Linked DNA regions of Homo sapiens: region 1 is linked to region 2. Evidence: promoter capture Hi-C in human tissues and cell types (Jung and others, 2019). All regions are on one chromosome and are shown on one strand. The core of a region is centred on a gene start or on the middle of the fragment in contact, and the rest is flanking DNA. Distances in the headings are between cores, read along the strand shown.

Evidence for each region. The method cuts DNA at HindIII sites, captures the fragments that hold promoters and counts their contacts. A contact is called where the count stands out against the background at its distance.
Region 1: a contact is called between a fragment that was not itself captured here and the fragment with the promoter of ASH2L in region 2, in 1 of the 25 tissues and cell types used here (H1 embryonic stem cells).

The regions. Positions count from the first base shown.
Region 1 is chr8:38,705,797-38,708,496 of GRCh38, forward strand. No RefSeq gene overlaps it. Among named protein-coding and RNA genes, the nearest start is that of TACC1, 80 kb to the right of the region's middle. The HindIII fragment of the contact is 5,844 bases long and covers 1-2,700 here.
Region 2 is chr8:38,104,169-38,106,868 of GRCh38, forward strand. ASH2L (ASH2 like, histone lysine methyltransferase complex subunit) reads left to right here and starts at 1,361. Exons shown (of 16, transcript NM_004674.5): 1 at 1,361-1,570; 2 at 2,210-2,276. The coding sequence starts at 1,383. RefSeq lists silencers at 1,129-1,218, 1,549-1,748 and an enhancer at 1,329-1,458. The HindIII fragment of the contact is 26,659 bases long and covers 1-2,700 here.

The sequences.
Region 1 (2,700 bases), core at 22-2,521, 600 kb after region 2:
AAATACAATGCTCCACTCTCCTCTTTTTTAGCTAATTTCCAGACTTCCCGCTTCCTTTGGCTGCCAAAATCCTCCACATTGTGGCTGACACTCAATGCCTCCATCTACTATTCCCTAAACCGCGGACTTCCACCCCCACAATTCTATTGCAACTGCATTTGCTGGAGGTTGCCAGGACTTTCTTCTGGCCAAACACAATGGTTTTCCCCCCTAGTCCTCAGCCTTGCTGACCTCAGGGCAGTACTTGACATTGTTTATGACCCAGCCTTCCCAAGGCACTTTCCCACCTTTTTCTCCCCTGTTTACCTATTTGCTGTGTCTTCCAAATGTGCCTCTGAGCATGGCTCTTCTGCAGGGCTCTGATCACCCTGGGGCTCTCTCTCCCCTAGACAGCTCCTCTCATGGTTTTAACTAGAAGATCTCTGCTATGACTCCCAAATTTACCTCTTTATATGGTTTGGCTCTGTGTCCCTACCCAAATCTCATCTTGAATTGTAATTCCCATAATCCCCATGTGTCAAGAGCAGGACCTGGTGGGAAGTGATTGGATCATGGGGGCAGCTTTCCCCATTCTGTTCTCATGATAGTGAGTGAGTTCTCATGAGATTTGATGGTTTTACAAGTGTTTGACAATTCCTCCTATGCACACATTTGCTCTCTGTCACCTGCCGCCATGTAAGACATGCCTGCTTCACCTTCCACTATGATTGTAAATTTCCTGAGGCCTCCCCAGCCATGCTGCACTGTGAGTCAAATAAACCTCTTTCCTTTATAAATTATCCAGTCTTGGGAAGTTCTTTATAGCAGTGTGAAAATGGACTCATACACTTCTCCAGCCCAGACTCTGCCCCTGTGCCCCTAGGTGCGCCCTGGTTCCCCTTGGCCCTCAAAAGTTTTGCTGAAAAATCAACTTGCAGAAGGCAGATTAATTGGAGAAAAGGCATACACATTTATTTAATATATGATTAATATATTAAATATTGTCCAATAATATGATTGGACAAAAAGGGAACCATCTAATGCTGATAGACAGAGTGGGAACACCAAGCAAGGACTGTCTGTCTAGAGTCTTCTTTGCCTCTCTGAGCAGCACTCCTTCCTTCTGGGTTTGGGGCAGGACCCTTTCTGGAAAGGGGGTCTTATGACCTACAGTCCAATCAGGGAGGTCGGAAAATTTCCTTATGGCAAATTTTTAAACAGAAGGCAAGGGGAAAGTTAGAGAGTAATATTTTTAGTTTTTATGGCTTGCTTTGGGGGGAAGGGGTTCTGGTTTCTAAGACCTGCCTTGGGTTGTTCTTAGATTCTAGTGTCTCTGGCTAGTCTCGGGAGGATGGGACTGAGAGACAGGAGGACAAGAGAAGATCAGAGAAAAACTTTTGTTTCTGAGGCCTTCATTTTGAAGTATCGTTTTCTGAGCCCCAATAACCCAAATCCTTCATGTCCCTGAATAAATTTATCTTCTTCCCTCAAATTAGTTCTTCTTCCAAATATGCCTATGTCCCATTGTCTCTAAGGAAAGCCCAAGCCCAATACCTTGAGGCACGTTCTACTCCCCCACCTCTTCCAATCTACACATCCAGACTCCAAAACTGCCCCACTTCATGCTGTCTCCATCTCTCTCAAAGATGCTACCTCTCCATACCTCAATATTTTCCTAAAGTACTTCATTTGAAAGCAGTTTTTGCTAATCAACACTTTTAGAATAGACTTTCCACTTAGAGAAATCTATCCTAGGGAAATCATCAGAGATTCATGAAAACAAAGACTAATGTGTCTGAATCTCAAATAGGAACAACTTAAATGAAGAGGACTGAGGGCCTTAGTTAATACATTATGGTGTGTCCACTGCAAGGGAATGGTGCAGGCTTTCACAATTGGGCTTCAAAAGGATATTTGATGGTATGAGAAAATGTTTATCCTATATTGCTAAGCGAAAAAAAAAAAGACAAGGGAGAGAGGAATGAATAGGCAGAACACAGAGGATTTTTAGGGCAGCAGAAATATTCTGTATGATAATGCAATGAGGGATATATTATGTCATCCTACATTTGACCAAACCCTGGCAGGTCTTAGAAACCAGAACCCCTTTCCCTCAAACCAGCCATAAAACCTAAAATACTACTCTCTAACTTTCCCTCCGCCTTCTGTGTAAAAATTGGCCATAAAGGAATAATCTGGCCAGGAGCGGTGGCTCATGCCCATAATCCCAGCACTTTGGGAGGCCAAGGTGGGCAGATCACTTGAGCTCAGAAGTTCAAGACTAGCCTGGCCAACATGGTGAAACCCTGTCTCTACTAAAAATATAAAAATTAGCTGGGCATGGTGGCAGGTGCCTGTAATCCCAGCTACTTGGGAGGCTGAGGCAGGAGGATCGCTTGAACCGAGGAGGTAGAGGTTGCAGTGAGCCAAGACCACGCCATTGCACTCCAGCCTAAGCAACAAGAGCAAAACTCCATCTCAAAAAAAAAAAAAAAAAGAAAGAAAGAAAGAATCTGACCTACCTGGTTTGGCTGTAGGTCATCAGACTCCCATTCCAGCAGTGTCTTGCCCCATACCCAGAAGGAAGGCGCTCTGCACAGAGAGGCCAAGAAGAATCTAGGCAGACAGGCCTTGCTGAGTTTTTCTGCTGAGTCTGTTAGCATTAGGCCATTCCCTTCTTCTCCAATGTATAATAAAAGTTAAACAGAATGTACAACACCA
Region 2 (2,700 bases), core at 111-2,610:
CCCCGCCTCTACTAACAAAAATTAGCCGGGCGTGGTGACAGATACCTGTAATCTCAGCTACTCGGGAGGCTGAGGTAGGAGAATCGCTTGAACCTGGGGTGGAGGTTGCAGTGAGCCGTGATCGGGCCACTGCGCTCCAGCCTGGGCGACAGAGCGAGACTCTGTCTCAAACAAACAACAACAAGAAAACACAAAATTCTGCGACCATATGTTAAAACTGCTACAATACTACGTATTTGGGAGGAGATACTTAGATCAAGCATCCTGCTTCTCTTTGGAGTACCAACCCCTGATTTAAGTATTTATCATCAATTTTAAAAATGTAACCTGGCAACTCAGTTAGGTCTTTCTTCAATTTTGTTGAAAACCAATAATTGAGAACCAATTGGGAAATCAATATCTACGTATTTCCCATGGCGTCCAGTGGCCCAGAGATTCCTACACTATCGGTGGACACATCACAGTAAGATTAGACTGAGGATTGGCGAGGGGTGCGCCGTTCTTGTGTAAAGCGGGAGAAGAGTGTATTATCGTTAGGCAACATTTTAGGATATAGGATAAACACTGGTGTCCTGAAAACGTTCCTGGCCGCAACACTCTCAGAGGTTTGCATTCTCGAGTTTGGAGACCATGGCTCTGAAAGACTCAACTCACTCCACTGATGCCAGCCACCAGCTACTGTTGATGACTTCCCAAGTTCGTACTTTCAGTCCACACCTCTTCCTTTCGCTGGGCACCAAACTTGTCTACATTCCGAGTGCCCCGGCACACCCCGGGGCTTCGCTTTCCGCCTCTCACAGTAGGAAGCGGCGAGCCGCTTCTAGTGCCCACGCCGCTCCTCGGCTGCCCGGCCTGGGTTTTCCACCCTCGCCCCTGGAATCGGCCTCCCTAGATTCCCTTCCCTCTTAAAATCATTTGGAAACGGGCTCCAAGGGGCGACCCTGCGCAGAAAACCAAATTCCATCCGGGGCGGGCAGGGAGTGCTAGACTCCAAGGAAGACGTTTCCCACATTCGGTGGTGAGGAGTGTTTGGCGGCACGGCACGGCCAGCGCTCTCAAGGACCCTCTTCTGCGCAGAATATCCAGTCGTAGCCACGAAAATACGCCGCGTCAGTCCCTGACTCGAAAGGAAGTCCTCCAGAGAGCCGCACTAACCATCTAGCTTCCTCCACCTTCAGCCTGCCAGGCCCGCGGCCACCGCCGGCGCGGGAGGCCGGCCCACCTCTGCCCGCGCGCCTGGCCTTAAAGCGGTCGTGGAATTATGCTTCCTCAGGCAGGCGGTGGACGCACCGCGGGCTTTTTCTGTTTGAAGACTACAGCGTCACACAGCAACGCGCGCGAGAGAAGAGAGTATTCTCGCGAGAAGTCCAGGGGTGGCCGTGATGGCGGCGGCAGGAGCAGGACCTGGCCAGGAAGCGGGTGCCGGGCCTGGCCCAGGAGCGGTCGCAAATGCAACAGGGGCAGAAGAGGGGGAGATGAAGCCGGTGGCAGCGGGAGCAGCCGCTCCTCCTGGAGAGGGGATCTCTGCTGCTCCGACAGTTGAGCCCAGTTCCGGGGAGGCTGAAGGCGGGTAAGAGGTCCTGCCGCCCGAGGAAGACGCGGGAGGGAGGCCCGCCCCTCGCGAATCCCGCGGCTCCTGGAGCCCTGCCGCCCGCCCCCTGCGAACCCAGGCCCCGCCGCCAATGGCTCGCCCTGCCTCTGCGCCGCTTGGCCCGTCCCCTCTCAAGCATATCTCGGATAACGCCCCTTCCGCACCTTTCACGGGCGGTGGGAGCTGAGGCTCCTGTCGTTATCTCTGATCCTTGCACCCTGGCAGGAAGCTGGTAGCTCACACTTTAACGGGAGGCCTTCACATATTCCAGAAAAGAAACCACTTTGCAGTGCCAGACTGGAAGAAGTAACGGTCACTCTGAAAACAGGGTGGGAGAGCTGCCTCTCTTTGAACCTCTCCCAGGACCAACTCTAACCCAGGTAGATTTGACTGTAAAGGCCGGTTAGGCTTCCCTGTGCTCCGTGGGTCCGCGACTGTCTGACATGTCCACCTTCTCAGTATCCTGACAGTACCTTGGGCATCCAGTCTGAGATCAGGCTTAGCTGAAAAAGCTGCAGGAGTATGAAGTTCGGCTGTAATTTGATCATCATTTTTGGGAATAGGCATTTTGAGGTTTGTCTTGAGAATTCTTACTTGAGCGCTTTCATTATCTTATAGGGAGGCAAACTTGGTCGATGTAAGCGGTGGCTTGGAGACAGAATCATCTAATGGAAAAGATACACTAGTAAGTATTTTTAGTTGTTTGCAAGACAAAATAGGGTTTGTTTTAGTTATTTCTTCTTCTTCTTTTTTTTTTTTTTTTGTTGCGACGGAGCCTTGCTCTGTCGCCCAGGCTGGAATGCAGTGGCGCGATCTCGGCTCACTGCAACCTCCTCCCCCCGGGTTCCAGCGATTCTCCTGCCTCAGCCTCCCGAGTATCTGGGATTACAGGCATCTGCCAACACACCTGGCTTCTTTTTTTTGTCTTTTTAGTAGAGACGGGGTTTCACCATGTTGGCCAGGCTGGTCTCGAACTCCTAACCTCAGTTGATTCTCCCGCCTCAGCCTCCCAGAGTGTTGGGATTACAGGCGTGAGCCACCGCGCCCGGCCTTGTTTTTACATTTTTAAGCGAATCAAAAATACATTCAGGCCAGGCACGGTGGCTCAT